3 separate regions of the Homo sapiens genome follow, and all the other regions are linked to region 1. The links are contacts of gene promoters, found by promoter capture Hi-C in blood cells and fetal thymus (Javierre and others, 2016). All regions are on one chromosome and are shown on one strand. The core of a region is centred on a gene start or on the middle of the fragment in contact, and the rest is flanking DNA. Distances in the headings are between cores, read along the strand shown. Region 1 holds the start of KLF9 (KLF transcription factor 9). Region 2 overlaps CEMIP2 (cell migration inducing hyaluronidase 2). Region 3 overlaps CEMIP2 (cell migration inducing hyaluronidase 2).

Region 1 (3,817 bases), core at 1,143-3,642:
TATTATAATACGCATTCCAACACCCCCAAGGAAACTTCACTGTTGAAAATAGAAGAAAAAAATCCTGACATAGAAATAATTATTTGCTGATATGTTATTTTATATATACGTTTTTAACATATAAACTTCATGGAGGACAGAGTCTCTTTTCATTTCTGTATTCCCCCATGCCTAGCTCATTGCCAGGAACATAAATATCTGGAGAATGAATGAGTGGAAAAGGAGAAAAAAGAGAAAGCATTCTACAGTTCTAGAATTGCTGGGTTTAAAAAGATATTCTAAATCAAGTCAAGCAGCAGTTATGTTTGTAAATGTGTGAGAAATTCATGTAGATGAAATCTCAGTTTTCTTTCATTACTTTCTTTTGTAACTCTGAAATGAGTGAGTTTGGAGAATTCAGTGTTTATGTCCAGTTCAAACAAAGTGAAATTAAAGGGAATTAAAGAAAAGCTGGCAAGGAGTAAGGAAGGGAAAAGTTTATATTTTTAAAAAACCTAAAGTGACTGATGTATTCAAATTCCTGGATTATATAATCTTCAAGGAAAGATACAGACTTTTCCTCTATTCTGGAATAATGATGATGGTGGTCCTAGGGCTGTCTATAGATGTCCAGGCCCGAGCAGTCTGTTTCACCAGTACAATCCCAGTTAAAATGCAAGTCTGAGGGGTTGTACAGGCCATGATCATAGAGATCCTGGAGAGATCCCGCTGGTATATGCACTGGGCCTTGAGGCAGGCAAAGGTGCAATTTCTAAGTGATCGTGTATCCTAGGGGACAAAATTTGTCCCAGAAAAATCATGAAGTAGGCAAACTCCCCTGGGCTTCAGTGAATTCTTTTCTAAAATTAAGAGATTAAGTTCTAAAAATGCAAGAACTCCAAGATGGCTTGGAGTTTTTTATACACTGTATACCTACCTTACAGGGATGCATGCAGGGTGCTTGGTACAGGGCCTGACACAGAGTAAGCCCTCCATGAAAGGGGTCGGTGATAATGATGCTGATGGTGATGATATTCTTGGTTGCCCAGTATCCCCTATCTACACCTTTCTTCCACCTGCAGTCACCTACTGCAATATCTTCCCTGTACCACTTTAATATTTTTGTTGTTGTTTTCTTTATTTTTTTAAGCTGTACACTTTTATTGAACTGGTCTTGTCAGGTTTGTTATTTTTTAATTAAAATCTATTATACTCTTACTTACCTGAGCCACCCTTAGTTATGATTTAAAAAAAAACAAAAAAAACAGGGCCTTGCTCTGTTGCCCAGGCTGGAGTAGTACAGTGGTGTAATCAGGGCTCACTGCAGCCTTGACCTAGGCTGACGCAGTCCTTCAGCCTCAGCCTCCTGAGTAGCTGGGACTACAGGTGCGAGCCACCACGCCTGGCTAACTTTTTTTTTATTATTATTATTTTTGATGTACCACTTTAAAAACAAAGTCAAAAGAAACTACTGTAGATCTCACATTGGTAGAGTCAATTTGAGACCCTTGCCTCGGAGACCAGAACCTGGTGTAACTTTCTCTTAACAAAGGTTAATAGCCAGTGGGGGGTCAGGGTTGGAACTCACCGAATCTGCATCACATAGAATCAGGTACCTCTCACATTCACGAAAGTGAATTATTTTTAATGAATTGTGCTGACAGTATGCCTCTTGCAAAAAGAACTAGCCCTAGATTCTTTTCTAGCTATCAAGATGGAAAACAACCACATCGTTAATTCAGACGGAGGGGTAAACCAAGTTAATCAGACTCCAAGACCCATACTAATTGTTGACCAAGTAATGCCACAGTATTCCATGGCTAAGGATTTCCAGCTTGTTCCAGTCCCTAAAAATCTGTTCTGCACAGTTAATATTTCACAAAACCAAAAGGGCTTAGTTGCAAGCACAAAGAGCTAGAAATCAGGAGACTTGTGGTTTCTATTGAGTTCTATCATTATCTGTCTAATAAGATAAATAAGTCACTTCTCTGTAACTCAGTTTCCACATTTGTGAAGTGAGGGAAGAGAAACATGTCCTAAAAACCATGCAGGGGCTCTGGAAAGAAAAAGAGCTAAGAATGGTGGGTTTTTTATAAAAGTTACACAAATGAATGGTTTTTGTCTCCGTTTTTCTGAAAGTGGGTTAAAAATAGCCTCCAAATAAAGCTAAAAGAATTTATTTAGACTAAATTGCACCAGAGAAGTAGAGGAATTAAGAGATATGACAAGCAAAGATGGGATGTTTCAATGGAAGAATCTCAGGCAGTAAAAAGGCTATGCTGTAAAACCAGAACTTTTGTTAGCACTGCATTTTTAAGATGAATTGGTCATAGTTAATGTATTGGATGGAAGAATTTTTAAACATCTGCCCCAAAGTATGCTGCATCCAAAAAATATATAACAAAACGAATTCTTACTCATTTGTGTTTATTCTTGGACTTATCCTGACATAATGGGGTTTTTTTAATTATAGATTCACACTGCATTTATTCATCACCCCTGTCCTCTCATCCATAACTCAAATTTACTACCAGCAACACAAAATACAAAGATGTGTCCAGTTTCACTACAGCTCTTCGCGTTTACAAGTGTCGAGCGCTTGCTTTCGGAACGCCCTTGTGATTGGCCGAGCCAATGCCAGTGACATCAACCAACTTACTTTTGATTGGAAGGCTGGTTGCTGGGACTGTAGCGTTTGCAGGAAGTCACTTAACTGTTTGGGAGCTGGAAAACCGAAGCTGAAGTTCTCTTTTGCCATAGGAACGAGCGCAACTGACTAGGAAAGATGTGTCCCAAAGCTCCGCAAGCTGGAACGTGAGCCAGGAGGCCCGGACCGGCCACGGGACCGCGAGGCACTCCGAAAGTGTGCGGCTGCCCCTTCCCTGCCTCCCAGCTGTTACCCTTTTAAATGTCAGTGTTCGAGGCTGTAGGGGTAGCACGAGGCAGCGAAACGGAACAGTCGGATTGGCCGCACGCCTCAGTTCTAGACGCACCTCTCCACCGAAGGCCGTTCTGACTGGCAGGGGGAGAAAGTAAACAGAGTTGAATCACCCTCCCCACTGGCCAATTGGAGGGGGTTTGGTTTGTGACGTGATGGGATTCTGCGAAATTGTTACTGAGCAAGAGAATGCCGGAACGGTGCGGACCGGCCGGAGCAGGGGTTCAGAAGCCGTCAGTGGACTCGGGAAAAAGTGTCTCTTAGACCTGGCGCTCGGCGGGACCCTCGCCACCCGCGTCGGGGTGATCGGGTGAATGTCCTGGGGCTTTGGCTCGACGGCGAGGCGGCCGAGGGCGTGCACCTCTCTTGCAGTTTCCTCTCCCAGCGCCTCGGGGGCGTTTTCAGTCGAATAAACTTGCGACCGCCACGTGTGGCATCTTTCCAAGGGAGCCGGCTCAGAGGGGCCGGCGCGCCCGTCGGGGGATCGCGGCCGGCGCGGGGCAGGGGCGGCGGCTAGAGGCGGCGGCGCGGCGGAGCCCGGGGCCGTGGATGCTGCGTGCGGAGGCGCTGCCGGTTACGTAAAGATGAGGGGCTGAGGTCGCCTCGGCGCTCCTGCGAGTCGGAAGCGCCCCGCGCCCCCGCCCCCTTGGCCGCCGCGCCGTGCCGCGCCGCGCCGCGCTCGTCGTCCGAGGCCAGGGCAGGGCGAGCCGAACCTCCGCAGCCACCGCCAAGTTTGTCCGCGCCGCCTGGGCTGCCGTCGCCCGCACCATGTCCGCGGCCGCCTACATGGACTTCGTGGCTGCCCAGTGTCTGGTTTCCATTTCGAACCGCGCTGCGGTGCCGGAGCATGGGGTCGCTCCGGACGCCGAGCGGCTGCGACTACCTGAGCGCGAGGTGACC
Region 2 (3,951 bases), core at 873-3,372, 1.3 Mb before region 1:
CACAGCTCAATGTAGTCTTGACCTCTCAGGCTCAAGTGACCCTCCTACTTCAGCCTTCCAAGTAGCTGGGACTACACGTGCACACCACCAGCCTGGCTGGTTATTTTTTGTTTTTGTTTTTGTTTTTAATTTTATTATTTTTCTAATTTTTTGTGGAGATGGAGTTTTGCTGTGTTTCCCAGGCTGGTCTTGAACTCCTGGGCTCAAATGATCCTCTCATCTCAGCCTTCCAAAGTGCTGAAATTAAAGGCATGAGCCACTGCACCCGGCTGGCCAAGAACATTTCTGATTAAAGTTTTTGAAAGAGTGAGTTTGTATGTGTACACACACACACACACACACACACACACACACAGAAAATAAATACATTATTAAATATATTGCTAAAGGATATGCAACAGAAGTTGAATAAAAGGAGAGACTCTGTTTCTGAATGGAAAATTAATAAATGTTAATTTCATGGACCAGTTTCATGGAAGATAATTTTTCCATGGACTGGAGGTGGAGGGGGATGGTTTCAGGATGATTCAAGTGCATTACATTTACTTAGTTAAAATATAAATTTGACACATTTCCATTAGTGTCCCAAAAGGTACTTTTCTACTGTACTTGACAGTTGATACTGTAGTTCATCTGGAAGAATAAATGAGAAAGTAGTAAAATATAAACAAATTACAGTAATACAAGGGCTTGTTTTTATCAAATATTAAAATGGACCGTGAAGCCATAGGCCAGCATAGTTTTGGCAGAGAAGAGCAAGATCAGAGAAGAACGGAGAATCCACAGATAGGTCCAAGTATGTATGTTGGCTTACTATGTGACAAAAATGGTAATTCAAACCATGGAAAACACATTTAGTCGTTTATTTATTTTTAGAATTGTGTTTATCCATTTATTTAATAAATAGATAATAGAACTTAAATAAATAGAGTATTTGAAACAAAACAAAACCATTCTCCCATGTTACAGTAGACTTACTCCCTGATAGACAATGGAGAAGGAAGGGTGAGGGGTGGATGACAGGAAATTACTGAATAGGCACAGTGTACATTATTTGGGTGATGGATACCCTAAGTGCCCTGACTTCACCACTATGCAATCCTATGTATGTAATGAAATTGCACTTGTGCCTCACAAATTTATACAAATTATAAACAACAACAACAACAATAGACTATTCCCTAAAAGAGCTGTGCCCCAGACCATCCACTAGGTCAGCAGTCCCCAGCCTTTTTGACATCAGGGACTGGTTTCATGGAAGATAATTTTTCCATGGACTGGAGGTGAAGGGGGATGGTTTCAGGATGATTGAAGCACATTACATTTACTGTGCACTTTTTTTCTATTATTATTACATTGCAATATATAATGAAATAATTACACAGCTCACCATAATGTAAAGTCAGTGGGAGCCCTGAGCTTGTTTTCCTGCAACTAGATGGTCCCATCTGGGGGTGATGATCAACAGATCATTGGGCATTAGATTCTCAGGAGCACACAACCTAGATCCCTCACATGTGCAGTTCCCAATAGGGTTCTGCTCCTATGAGAGTTGAATGCCACAGCTGACCTGACAGGAGGCGGAGCTCAGGCTGTAATGCAAGTGTTGTGGGGTGGCTGTAAATACAGATGAAGCTTCGCTCGCCTGCTCACCTCCTGCTGTGCAACTTGGTTCCTAATCTACTGGTACCCATCCATGGCCCAGGGGTTGGGAAGCCCTGCACTAGGTGAACGTACGTAAATGATTTGGTTTATGTATGCGTTACCCCTTGTAAGAGCAACGTGTGAAGCCCATGGTGGTGGGGTGGAAGAGTGGGAATTGGATGGAAAATCATCTAGACTTTTTTCTTTTTGGAGTTCTGCTTTTATCTAATATTTCTATTCAGCAGTCAGTTCAGAAAGATACTCAGTAGAAAGATACTCATGCTGAAGGATTGAAATTGGCTCTGACTTTCTAAATTTCACATACAGGTCCATTGTTCTGTTGAGCACAAGAGGAGAAATAAAGCAGTTAAACATTTCACACTTACTAGTACCTCTGGGATTAGCCAAACCAGCTCATCTTTATGACAAAGGTTTGTATTTGTATTATTTCATGAAGTTCTTACAGGGCCAGCAACATAGGTAATTTTATGGTGCAATTCAGCTACCAGACCATTTTCATGAGCTTGTTTGCTGGAGTGGGTATCATTAAGATGATTTCTAAATAAGGGCACAATGTGAGAGGAAGTGTGTTGGGATGTGGTTTGTTATCTGGGGCAAAAGGTGGGTGGTGAGAGTTCATTTGCTGATGTAAGGAAGTGCAGAGTTTTTTAATAGCTGCCTTTGTTTTGCTCACCTCCGACTCACCTCCTATATTCTCTTGCTGGAATGTAGCTATAAAAATTGATTTTTTTTCTTTTTCTTTTTTTTTTTTTTTTTTAGGGAGTACCATATTTTTGGGATTCAGTGGAAACTTTAAACCATCATGGACTAAGCTATTTACCAGTCCTGCTGGACAGGGCCTTGGGGTGCTTGAACAATTCATACCTTTGCAGCTGGACGAATATGGTTGTCCCAGAGCCACCACTGTCCGCAGAAGAGACCTGGAACTGCTAAAGCAAGCTTCAAAAGCACATTAGAGACTAACTGTAACTTAAGTGCTGGGGGAAAAAAAATGTGAACTAACTTATTTAATTTATGGCATTTTAAAATGACACTGTTAACCCAACGGAACCATTTTCCAGTTTGATACAGAATGGGGAGAAAAGAAAGCGTTTGAAATTATTGCTTGGATACCAGCTTCATGCACCTTCTAGTTGTACAAAATGTTAAAGACGTTGTTTGTATTTGTAAGGCTGGTGTATTCAGAGAGCAGATCTCTTATTCCTCACTTTCCACCCCCGTATTTTGTAATGACCATGAGCAATGTTTTTACTTTTTGTATAATGGGGTGGGGTGGAGTGGGGGCTTCTGAGAGTCAGCCTGAGGTCTTTAGAGGACCAGCTATTGTAGCACCTTGGATACTTGAAGTTTAATGCTCAGTTGGGTCGGGTGGCAGTTGACTTGGTGGCTGGCATGTTCAGCAGTGCCTGGGGCCCTGTTTCTGGGCAGCCTTTGAGGATTTTCTATGATATTGAATGACAGTTTTAAGTGGCAACTCAGGCCCAGCTCATGCCCTTTTTTGCCTGGACATGTGCTATTTTTATTCACTTATATATCAATTACTTGTAAGGGTTAAACTTTCAAACAGGAAGTATATTGGGACAAAAGGGCTCTTGGGGATTAGATATCCCTTTAATCTGTGACCATTGGGCAAAAAATTTTCCTGCAGCAAAAGTCTGAGGCTGTTGGGACCATTTTTGCAGCTTTAATCCTTAGCCTCTTTTGACTGTATATTTGTGTTTAAAATGCAGAGCTCAACTGAATATTTCCTTTTTTGTTTTGTTTTGTTTTGTTTTAAGAAGTAGGTTGTTTTCCTGAACCGTAAACTTGTATCATTTTAACTTGCACAAAGGAAGTCTGTTCTTGGTATTGCTCTTGCACTTGGGTTTTTTGTTATTGTTTTGTGTGGATTTTTTAAAGCTTTTCTGTTCACCCTCCTGCCAGGAAAATCCCAGAAAGCTTAATGATACCCCAAAATGATTACACCCAGGGAGGAAAAAAAGGAGCGCTTTCTAGGGTCAGAATCGTGGAGAGAATACTCAGAAATGAACCTCTTTAAAGCCTTGCAGGAATGAGTCACTCTTACTTAATGAAATGTTAAAGCCAATTAAAAAGCATGCTGTGATGCCCAGCTTCCCTTTCCACAGGGTGCATGCGTCTCCTGCTGGTGAATCACATGCGGCAAGAGGCAACTGGCTCCACAGCCTGGGATGCTGCCGTACCAAGAGGAAAGAAGCAGCAAAATGCCTTTACGTTGTTCTAAACCCCCGACGCATAAAGTGTAGAGGAGGGATGGCCAAGGGTGGG
Region 3 (3,926 bases), core at 1,219-3,718, 1.3 Mb before region 1:
CCTTCTTTATAGCTGGGTACAGTGCTTGTTATAAAACTATGGAGAATTTCAGCTAGATGTTGTATGGGAAGAGGGAGGTAGAAAAGTTAAGGAATCCTCATTATTAAGGCAAAACAAATTTAAGAGTTTTTTTGTTTCTTTGATGGGAAGAAAAGCTTAAAGATTGTTTTTAGTATAATAGTGATACTCATTGACTTATCAGAAGCATTAAATATCAACAGTTATGATACTGCTGTGAGAAAAACTAATTCCATGAAATAATTGCCAAGGATATAACTGGTGAGGCTAATTGTAGCTGTGGTTAATAAGAGAAAGCATAAACCTAGGGCATTGTGAGAGCTCAGAAACAGGAAGATGTTTGCATTAGTGTTATGCAAGTTCAAAATGAGGAATCATTTTTTTTTCTGTATAGAACAATATGTTTGTGTAGCACCCTACCTCTCTACTTTTTCTCTTGTTATTCCTAAACATGTACCTGCCACCTTAATGAAAGGAATTTCTTCCTATGGTTTTTCAAGCATATCTTGCTTATTCTTACCTTAGCTGAGTTTAAATAAAGCCACCTTGGAATTCTGAACAACCAAATGGACTACTTGGATCTCAAGGGATAATTGCATTACTAGTGTTCTCATGATCCTCTTATTTAAATACTGCCCATCCTTTGGTGTCCAGCTCTCAAGTCACCTGTTCATGAAGCTGCCTCAGTTACTCCAGCCCCATGCCTCCTTTGCCTGAGGTCTTTTGAACCTCGACTGACTACCATATTGTTCAGTGTTTCATTATTTCATACTTGGTGTTTTTTCCCTCCAAAGCTTGCATATAAACTCTGAGGAAATGTGAGCTGATTCTATGCTTTATAAATTTTAAAATATCTGGTACAGAGTGGATAAATTGATGCTCCACAAATACTTGGCCATAGGTTGATCAAAATTGAAGGCGTGATTTTTTTTCTCCCCTCTTCAAAATTATGGCGGACCTTAAAGTTTTCATACATTAAATAGCTATGGCTATTTTAATTAAATACTGTTATATTTTTGTTATTATAATACCTATTCAAGAGGCAAGTTCTAATTCCAGTAAAGGAACACTACAAGTCAATAATCTCATTTTCTAAAAGGGGAAACTTGCGTATCACTCAGCTTGCTAAGTAATCTTTGGTTTCTCTAACCTGTAATTTCCTCATCTCTGAAAATGAGAAGTTATGTCTTTAGCCACTTGCCTCTTTCATTTTGTTGGGAGAGTGCACATGGCTGAAGATAGTGATGTTTCTCAGTCTTGGAGAGAGGTGCTATCAGTACTTACTTCATCATTCACTGTGTGCAAGAAGGAACTTGTGAAGACCTGATCAATGTATTATTTAGCAATTTTCATTTTTGATTTACCAGGATGTTGTGAACACATTTCTTTTCTAAAACAGCTTTCTAGTGTGAATCCCAAGAGAATGTATAATTTTGCCTCTTACTATTGGTTTATTTCCAGAGTAGATGATTCAGGGAAACTTTTTTTTTTTTTTTTTTTTTTTGGTGAAGTTTGTCCTGAACTAGATGCTAGCAATTTAGTTTTGTGGTAAAACTTTAAAATGGAAATGTGATGACAAATTAAAGGGTAAGATGGTTCTCTGCTGGTGGGAAGGCGTGGGATTTCCATTCTAATGGCAGGAAATCAACATATGTTAGCACATTTTTTGCAGATCTGCAGTAAATAATGGTAGTGCTTAGATTCGGCTATATTATTCCTGCATTTTAATGGGTTGGATGGAATATCAATGTGTTTATAGAAAATTGCCCAGATCAAAATCCTCGTCTCAGGAATTGGGATCCAGGACAAGATTCTGCAAAGCAAGTTGTTATCAAGGAGGGAGATATGCTCCGTCTGACCTCAGACGCCACCGTGCATTCTATAGTCATTCAGGATGGAGGTAGGTAATGGTTCCTGCCTATGGGAACTGCAAGGTTGCTCTTTAATGTGGGGGATATTTGATGTTCCTTATGTAGAAGACTATTTTTAGGCAGAATAGGCTTTAGTTTGTGGTGTCACTCTAACCATGGAGATTTGGAAAGATCATGAGATAAAACCAGAGAATTTATCCAGAGATAAAAAACATAGAATTTAAGAGCTTAGACCTTAGGTATCACTCAAATCAAGACCCCTGATTTATAGACAAGGAAACAGTTCCAGAGAGGTGATCTCTCAGAGCTAAATTTTTGTCACAATTCTGAGAGTGATTTTGTCACAATTCTGAGAGTTAACATGAGTAAACATATACAAAAATAAGATTCAGATTTGTAGACTCTTAGATATTTTTAAGAGAAATGATTTAACCTCTAAAGTGAGTAGGTTGAAATTCACAGTCATGGGCATTGAGAGTATATTAAGATATGAACTCTTCATTTTTCCCTTTAGTTTTCTAAGCAGATTCTTAGCGAATTCTTTTTTCCGACCTAATTGCGGAAGTGTATTTAACTTAAGGTGAAATCTATTTCCTTGTATCTCAGAAAGATGATTTAGAAGTTGGCTTACAGGGTGGTGTTCCCTGCAGGACTGCTTGTATTTGGGGACAATAAAGATGGATCCAGAAATATTACTTTGAGGACTCATTACATCCTGATCCAGGATGGTGGGGCGCTTCATATTGGAGCAGAAAAATGCCGCTATAAATCCAAAGCGACAATTACCTTGTATGGCAAGTCAGATGAAGGTGAAAGTATGCCAACATTTGGCAAAAAGTTTATTGGTGTGGAAGCTGGCGGGACACTGGAGTTACATGGGGCACGGAAGGCATCGTGGACGTTGTTGGCAAGGACCCTGAATTCCTCAGGCTTGCCCTTTGGGTCCTATACCTTTGAAAAGGACTTTTCCCGGGGCCTCAATGTGAGGGTCATTGACCAAGACACGGCCAAAATTTTGGAAAGTGAGAGATTTGATACCCATGAATACCGCAATGAGAGCAGGCGGCTTCAGGAGTTTCTGAGATTCCAGGATCCAGGTCGGATTGTTGCCATAGCTGTCGGGGATTCAGCCGCTAAAAGTCTCTTACAAGGAACCATCCAGATGATCCAGGAACGGTTGGGAAGTGAACTGATCCAAGGACTGGGCTACAGGTAGGCATACCTTCTTCCCAGATCCCTATCAGAGTCCGTGTCTGTGTGAGAGGAGAGTGAGGGTGGGGAAAGGAGCCACAGCCACAGCATGACTCAGGCATCAGAAGGGCCACTCTACCATTTGCATGTCTGGTAGCTTTGAGACATGGGGCTGGAGGATAGGACACCACATACAAAAGCTATTTTCATTGGCTTTGGTTTACAAAGCCCTTTGTGAACTGGAGTGCCAGACTTGTGAAAAGTTGAGAGCAGAAGTGTGGTACTGAAAAACAGTCAGGCAGTTTAAGGACAATTTGCCTCTGAAGATACTTCTTCCTTTCGTTACCTTCTGAAGATCATATGAAACTCAGGCTAATTGAGGCAACTTAATGAGTTTAAAGGTTAGGGCAGAATTTCATGCTAAGTTCTAAACCTGTCTTAAAAGGCTGAGGGGGTAGAATATGCAGTTTTTCTTTTTCTTTTTCTTTTTTCGGACTCCTTTGCAGGCTGATTGGAATCTGCATGTTTGATTGGCACAGGTCTATGGACCCCTGGCATATATGAGGAAGGAAAAAGTTAAAGGGCTAGGAAATTCATCCAGATAGTAGAATTCATTTCTGCTATTTATGGTTCTTGTACCCTATTCCTTTTATTTTTATTTTTAGTGACAGGGTCTTGCCCCGTTGCCCGAGCTGGAGTGCAGTGGTACAATCGTATCTCACTGCAGCCTCAACCTCCCAGGCTCCAGTGATACTTCCACCTCAGCCTCCCAAGTAGCTGAGACTACAAACAGTTGCTACCACACCTGTCTAATTTTTAAACTTTTTGTAGTTGAGGGGGTCTCAC

The links. The method cuts DNA at HindIII sites, captures the fragments that hold promoters and counts their contacts. A CHiCAGO score of 5 or more calls a contact.
Region 2: a fragment that was not itself captured here is called in contact with the fragment with the promoter of KLF9 in region 1 in 1 of 17 cell types (naive CD4 T cells); the score reaches 5.1 in naive CD4 T cells.
Region 3: a fragment that was not itself captured here is called in contact with the fragment with the promoter of KLF9 in region 1 in 1 of 17 cell types (total CD4 T cells); the score reaches 5.1 in total CD4 T cells.

What each region holds. Positions count from the first base shown.
Region 1 is chr9:70,413,232-70,417,048 of GRCh38, reverse strand. KLF9 (KLF transcription factor 9) reads left to right here and starts at 2,392. Exons shown (of 2, transcript NM_001206.4): 1 at 2,392-3,817. The coding sequence starts at 3,686. It overlaps KLF9-DT (KLF9 divergent transcript), which reads right to left and starts at 2,859. Exons shown (of 4, transcript XR_001746710.3): 1 at 2,639-2,859. RefSeq lists enhancers at 2,680-2,809, 3,150-3,229, 3,058-3,817, a promoter at 2,541-3,343 and a silencer at 3,520-3,699. The HindIII fragment of the contact is 11,812 bases long and covers 1-3,817 here.
Region 2 is chr9:71,683,867-71,687,817 of GRCh38, reverse strand. It overlaps CEMIP2 (cell migration inducing hyaluronidase 2), which reads left to right. Exons shown (of 24, transcript NM_013390.3): 23 at 1,972-2,075; 24 at 2,425-3,951. The coding sequence ends at 2,621. Among named protein-coding and RNA genes, the nearest start is that of CEMIP2, 83 kb to the left of the region's middle. The HindIII fragment of the contact is 969 bases long and covers 1,638-2,606 here.
Region 3 is chr9:71,744,193-71,748,118 of GRCh38, reverse strand. It overlaps CEMIP2 (cell migration inducing hyaluronidase 2), which reads left to right. Exons shown (of 24, transcript NM_013390.3): 3 at 1,778-1,918; 4 at 2,540-3,101. Among named protein-coding and RNA genes, the nearest start is that of CEMIP2, 22 kb to the left of the region's middle. RefSeq lists an enhancer at 3,421-3,926. The HindIII fragment of the contact is 3,308 bases long and covers 815-3,926 here.